Regions from separate parts of the Homo sapiens genome. Here region 2 is linked to region 1. The links are contacts of gene promoters, found by promoter capture Hi-C in human tissues and cell types (Jung and others, 2019). All regions are on one chromosome and are shown on one strand. Each heading gives the region's core, a stretch centred on a gene start or on the middle of the fragment in contact. The rest is flanking DNA. Distances are from core to core; before and after follow the strand shown.

Region 1 (3,330 bases), core at 614-3,113:
GGTAAGCCTGTGCCATGGTGGTTTGCTGCACCTATCAACCCATTACCTGGGTATTAAGCCCCGCATGCATTAGCTATTTATCCTGATGCTTTCCCTCCCCCTGCCCCCTCAACAGTCCACGTGTTCTCATTGTTCATCTCCCACTTGCAAGTGAGAACATGTGGTATTTACTTTTGTTCCTGCGTTACTTTGCTGAGGATAACGGCTTCCAGCTTCATCCATGTCCCTGCAAAGGACGTGATCTCATTTCTTTTTATGGCTGCATAGTATTCCATGGCATATATGTACCACATTTTCTTTATCCAGCCTATCGTTGATGGATATTTGGTTTGATTCCATGTTTTTGCTATTGTAAATAGTGCTGCAGTGAACATACACATGCATGTATCTTTATAAAAGAATGATTTATATTCCTTTGAGTGTATACCCAGTAATGGGATTGCTGGGTCAAATGGTATTTCTGGTTCTAGATCTTTCAGGAATTGGCACACTCTCTTCCACAATGGTTGAACCAATTTACATTCCCAACAGTGTAAAAGCATTCATGTTTCTCCACAGCTTTACCAGCATCTGTTGTTTCTGGACTTTTTAATAATCACCATTCTGACTGGCATGAGATGGTATCTCATTGTGGTTTTGATTTGCATTTCTCTGATGATCACTGGTGTTGAGCTTTTTTTCATATGTTTGTTGGCCGCATAAATGTCTTCTTTTGAGAAGTGTCTGTTCATGTCCTTTGCCCACTTTTCAATGGGGTTGTTTGTTTTTTTTCTTGTAAATTTGTTTAAGTTCCTTGTAGATTCTGGATATCAGACCACAAATTTTCTTAATCTGTCTCCAGTGATGGGAAAGCTAAGCTATTTGTCCACTGATTCCCAACGCCCACTGGATGCCAGGGATACTAAATCCCTCGCTCTTTCAAACTGTTATACTTGCAAGCTATACAAGCTCCCTGGGGGCCAGAGAAAACCCACAGCAGAAAATTAGGGACTGATGCTAGAGGTAGGAGGCTGTCAATGTGCATTGGCTATTATTCGGCCATAAAAAGGAATGAACTTCTCACTCACCACTGATGACATGCCTTGCTGCACACACACCCTGCTGCCACCCTGCAGAAATGCTTCCATTACCCACAGTCCTTTGCCAGATGGAACTGATGCCCAGGTAACTGGCTCCTCACCTCCTTCGGGCTTATACCAAGGATATAAAACTTGGTACAGATGCTCAAGCGTTAATGCTTCAGGGTGTGACTTTTAATCCAATGCTGTAGCTGTGACAACAGGGAAAAACGGAGAACAGAGTTGGAGAAGTCCCAAAGTAATGAAAGAAGTTATTTACTGTTGCAAAATCAAACGACTTAAAGGATAAATGTAACTGATCTTTACATACGAAAGAAGAGAGAGGGAAGTGAAGGGCGGGGAGAAAGAGACTCAGACAGACAGAGACTCCCTGAGAAAAAGACAGGCACAGAGTAAAAGACATACAGATGCACAGAAAAGAGAAGAAACAGAGTGAGAAAAATAAAACATAAGAATAGACATGTCAGGAGAAGAGTGAAATTAGAAAGAAGGAAGAGAGCTAGCATACTGTTAACCTGCAAACTCCCCCTGGGAAATGGAAGACTCTGGAGTTAAACCTCCCCTTCTGCTAAGGGAGCCTGGAAAGCCCAAGACAACATGTGCCCTCTTTCCCTGGTAGACCAGAAAGCCTCAGATTGCTGAGGATTAGGAGCCACCTATCCCCCAGTGTAGGTACCAGGTAGTCCCACTGATGGCCTCAGGGATCTGGTGTTCCTGATCGGGGAGTCTGGCTGGCTTGTCTCCAGGGCTGTCTCTTAAGGTGCTGGGCCACACCGGGGCAGGCAAAGTGCAGATGTAGGAGCTGCTGAGGAGCAGTTCTTAGTTTTGGTGCCATCAACCAGGCCAGTACTTCCTAAAATGGGACTCTCAGGACTTCTGCCAATCCTGGTACCATTCATCCTTTTGGGGGACATCCAGGAACCTGGGCACGCTGAAGGCATCCTTGGCAGTAAGTATTGGGAACTCCGTCCTTGCAATGGGGAAAGGAAACTCAGTGGGGAGGAAGGAACAAAGAATAATTTTGCAGCTGAGAAATTATTTTCTCCACCTCTGCCTGGAATTCCAGGTGGGAAAGAGGGGAGCTATTTGAAGTCTCTTGGTAAGAGACTCCCTTGGTGAATACAGGCATCCAAATCTGTGGCAAGTGACTCCTTGCTGCCATTCCAAAGAGTTCTTCCTGGAGGTGCCTGGACCTAGAGCTCATGAAATGAACTAAGAAGGAGTAGTAAGCCCAAGGAAGTCTCCCACAAGAAAAACAGGCTGCTCCCCACAACACCACCTGTGTCAACTTCCAAATGTTCTCATTGCAGCCCCCACACCCATACCCACAGAGGACCCTGGTCTTTGGGTTAAAGAATGGTCTCCAGAAGTCCCTTGGAATGCTGAAATGTGAAGACTCACAATTAGCAGCTAACTGTACTGGGCACTGAAAATTAGTGGTTGAAAGTGAGCACTCAGGAGCCACACATTGTAGGTTCAAACCTGGCTCCACCCCTGAGTAGCTGTGTGATCTTGGGCAAATTCACATAATCTCCTTATGCTTCCAATTCTTCTGTTTACAAAATGTGAATATTAAGAGTACTTACCCATAGATTTGTAATGAGGATTAAGGAGAAAAGGCAGCTCACAGTAAGTGCTTCATCCATATTACTCATTGTTACGTTACATTGCCCCAGGCAGTTTGACGATGGCTTGTCAAACTGTGTTGCTGGTTAGTCTTCAAAGCAACCCTATGGGCAAATGAGGAAATCAAGGCTCAGAGAGAGTGCCTGGCACACCAAGCGTCTCACAGAATTCAAAAGCCCAGCTATCTGATGCCAGAAATGTTAATCTCAATCATCGAGAGCCACAGCACCTCCTGGGGGAGCAACCAAGCACAGCAAGGCTGAGTGACCAGAACAGTCTTAGAGGAATGCGTCTTTCTCTCAGGAATCTCATAGATGGTGCGGGTAGGGGGTAGGGGTTGGTTTAGGCATCCGATGGTGAGTTGTTATGGGGTTGGGGATGTGAGCAGTGTTGTGAAATTCCTGAGCCCCCTGAGGGCCACTACCTTCTGGGGATAGGTGAAGTGGAAACAAAGTTCTCTAACTCTGGAGGGGTGCCCTGGTCTCGGGGAGGGGGAGCACTGGCTCCTTTAAGGCCTTGAGGGAATATATCTTCCCCTCCCTTAGAGCCGTGTCCCAAAATCAAAGTGGAATGCGAAGTGGAAGAAATAGACCAGTGTACCAAACCCAGAGATTGCCCAGAAAAC
Region 2 (3,330 bases), core at 388-2,887, 70 kb before region 1:
TTCTGTGCTTCTGGTCTTGACTCTTTCGTGGGAGATTTCAAGGGTTCATTGGAAACATGAAATGTCGTCTGGCCATTTGCAGTTCAGATACTTCACAAATTAGAGCCCTCTTCTCTGCTACTACAGGCCGCTTTGGCCAGATTTAAAGTCACCCTTTAAAGTCTTCAGTCATGATTCAAGTCTACTGTGTTCCCATAGACTTCTAGGATCACATAGCAAGCTCAATGAGTCGTATTCATAAAACCTTTTCTCTCAACTTGGAATTAGGAGGCAGCATTCCGGCTTTCACGAGCAAAGCTTTTTACCAATAAAATTTCCTTCAAAATCTTCTCTACAATTCCTCCAACTTTGGACCATCTTAGTGCATTAAAGTTTTGAGTCCCCTAACAGTTCTTGGCCATCATCTTTTCTCAAGTCCTGTTATCTATCTGTAATTCCCTCTTAAATTGCTTTAGTGCCTTTTGTCTTAGGATCTTCACTAAAACTTCTTTACATCATCATGTTTCATATGCTTCAAAATAAAATATCAGGACACTTGATGTGTCCAATTTCATAAAAATAATGACTACAACATAAAAGTATAGACATATATTGATTATCTCTAGATGGTGGAATTGCTAATGCTTGTTTATTTCCTCTTTGTATTTTTAATTTTACATATTATATAATCTGAGGATTTATTGTTTTTAATCAGACAGGAGAAATTCATTTTAATAAGAAATAATTTTGCAAAGGAAGGGGTATGTAATATGAGATGAGAAGAAACCTGGGGAAGTCACTGGCTAGCCTGGGAGTTGGTTGGTATGCTACTGGGTACTAGAAAGGGAAAGAATAACATGATAGTCATAAGCACTTTACCCCTGTTGCTTACCCTGTTCTCCTCAATCCATTTTCTACGTCTAGCAGTATTGGGAAAAGACTTGCCTTCTGCCAGAACTTAACCCAAATACACACAGAGAGCACCATGAAGCCCTGGATTCTTCTACTCGTCATGTTCATCTCTGGAGTTGTGATGCTTCTGCCTGTGCTGGGAAGCTTCTGGAACAAAGATCCCTGTGGGTGGTGTGAAAAGGGACGGGGTGCTCTGCCCAGTCCTGGGATGTCTATTGTAGCTGATCCAGGGCCTGCATGTCAAGAATCAGGCTTTAAAGGATCTCTCCTTAAGTAGAGATATTCAAGCAAGATTAGGTTAGATATTCCCAATTCCTTTAAGTTTTCTCTTTCAGCTCTGAAAGCAACACTAGGTATGTGAAAAGGGAACGTATCTTTTGTCTATATTCCATCAGCTAGCAGGAAATAATATTTTCCAATATCAGACCAGTAGAGGAAAAACCAACACAGAGCTTCCCTCCAAGCCCATATTTTCAGAACCTTTGTGCCTCAGTTGGGTGAGCCTTTGATGAATGCCAAAAGGGTAATATTTAACACGTTAATTTAGTTGGAGGGGAAGAGTCTTTTAGAACATGAAAAATGGAAAAGACAAATAAAGGCTCCTTAGTGGGTCAAAGTTTGGGTTCATATGATAAGAAAATGTGGACAACAAAGACACTGAGCAGGAGGGTTGTGGGCCAGGGAAATAAAATTTATGGAGAGACTGACTTCTTAGGTGGCATCATCAGGGAAACAAATAGAAGGGGAGAAAAATGGCTGGGCACGGCGTCTCACACCTGTAATCCCAGCACTTTGGGAGGCTGAGGTGGGCGGATCACGAGGTCAGGGGTTCGAGACTGCCCAACCAACATGGTGAAACCCCGTCTCTATTAAGATACAAAAAATTAGCCAGGCATGGTGGTGTGCTCCTGTAATCCCAGCTACTCAGGAGGCTGAGGCAGGAGAATCGCTTGAACCCGGGAAGTGGAGGTTGCAGTGAGCTGAGATCATGCCGTTGCACTCCAGCCTGGGCGACAGGGCAAGACTCTGTCTCAAAAAAAAAAAAAAGAGAAGGGGAAAAAAAGTAAGTTTCTATTCTCCCTTGGCTCAGTTTCCCACTCTGCAAATTGGCTTTGGAAATTGGAGTTAGAGGATATTGCAGGCCCTGAAATCTAAGGTTACATGAGAATAAATTTGGTGGTTGGTGTCATATATGGTCAGGGTGTCCCAGGTCCTATCTTTAGAGTCTGAAATGCTGTAGGGACATGTAGATGGAGGAACACAGGCCATGCAAGGATGGTCTTGTGACAAGACACTGGTTATAATTTGAGGAAGGGATTTTCTTGGAAGGCAGAGAAATACTTTGTGGCTTGGAGCTCAAGTTTCAGAAGGGATTGTTAAGCTTAGAAAAGGTTTCTTGTCTGAGTTGTGAATAGACGGACCCTGCTAACTTCTTCCATCTCAGTTCTAGATATGATAAGAGAAACTGAGCAGTGCTGGGTACAGCCTCCATATAAGTACTGTGAGAAAAGGTGTACTAAAATAATGACTTGTGTACGTCCAAATCATACATGCTGCTGGACCTACTGTGGAAACATCTGCTTAGACAACGAGTGAGTTGGTTGGGGTGGGAAGGCTAGGGCCTGGGCATGCTTCATCACTGGTCCTTACCGACTATTCAAAAGACCGCAGCCACCCAAATCCTGGTTAAAGAAATAGGCAGCAAAAGACAATGTCCTCCTATCTCCAAACCTAGGCTGCTCCTCACTGCAAAATAAACCAAGACACCAACATGAGGTCCTCTACTTTTTTCTTCACTCTTATTCAGTTCCCTTTGCTTCCCTCAACATATCACCCAACAGTTCATACATCCCTCCTTTATCCAAAGTTCCAATTACTAACCCCTTAGTTGGGCGTCTCCATGGGCGCTCTACTCTCAGCCAGGCCCAAGGAGACCTGGTATCTATCTGTCTGTTCAGTTGGCAAACTTCTTGGGGGAAATTGCTTAAAAGTGGGTAACTTCTGATTTAGCAGAAGAATTGCTGTCCTTTTTCATCTGGGGCCTAGGATGCTATTAATTTTAGAAATGGATTTATCCCAGGATTCTTGACTTTTGACTAACTTTTCTCTTCTAGAGAGCCCCTTAAATCAATGCTAAACCCCTAGATTCTATTGGCCGATCACTACTGTGGGCTGAAGGATGACCATCTGGTCTAAGAAGAGTGCTGCCTACTTCCTTCTTGGGACACCCACTGGCTCTAGCTGGTAACCTTTCTGCTATTTCCTTGACCTCTTTACCCTGAAGCTTTTGTCAAATAAACTGCTACATCAACCTGAGGGCTCTGCATATTTTTTTTTAACTTCCTCCCTATGACTTAATTTCTCTCATTGCAATCCTCAGCAGTCCCAACAGTTGTTTCCACTCAATCATGGGCAGAGGTGCCCAGTTCTGCCTTCCCA

The links. The method cuts DNA at HindIII sites, captures the fragments that hold promoters and counts their contacts. A contact is called where the count stands out against the background at its distance.
Region 2: a contact is called between a fragment that was not itself captured here and the fragment with the promoter of WFDC6 in region 1, in 2 of the 25 tissues and cell types used here (dorsolateral prefrontal cortex and spleen).

What each region holds. Positions count from the first base shown.
Region 1 is chr20:45,538,015-45,541,344 of GRCh38, reverse strand. It overlaps WFDC6 (WAP four-disulfide core domain 6), which reads left to right and starts at 1,863. Exons shown (of 3, transcript NM_080827.2): 1 at 1,863-2,028; 2 at 3,251-3,330. The coding sequence starts at 1,938. EPPIN-WFDC6 (EPPIN-WFDC6 readthrough) reads left to right here. Exons shown (of 5, transcript NM_001198986.2): 4 at 3,251-3,330. EPPIN (epididymal peptidase inhibitor) reads left to right here. Exons shown (of 4, transcript NM_020398.4): 4 at 1-719. LOC107987282 (a long non-coding RNA gene) reads right to left here. Exons shown (of 4, transcript XR_001754641.3): 3 at 2,666-2,809; 4 at 958-1,270. It also overlaps the pseudogene HSPD1P21. The HindIII fragment of the contact is 28,992 bases long and covers 1-3,330 here.
Region 2 is chr20:45,607,816-45,611,145 of GRCh38, reverse strand. It overlaps WFDC9 (WAP four-disulfide core domain 9), which reads left to right. Exons shown (of 5, transcript NM_147198.4): 3 at 907-1,055; 4 at 2,336-2,483; 5 at 3,006-3,207. The coding sequence starts at 965. The coding sequence ends at 3,036. Among named protein-coding and RNA genes, the nearest start is that of WFDC10A, 20 kb to the left of the region's middle. The HindIII fragment of the contact is 3,512 bases long and covers 1-3,330 here.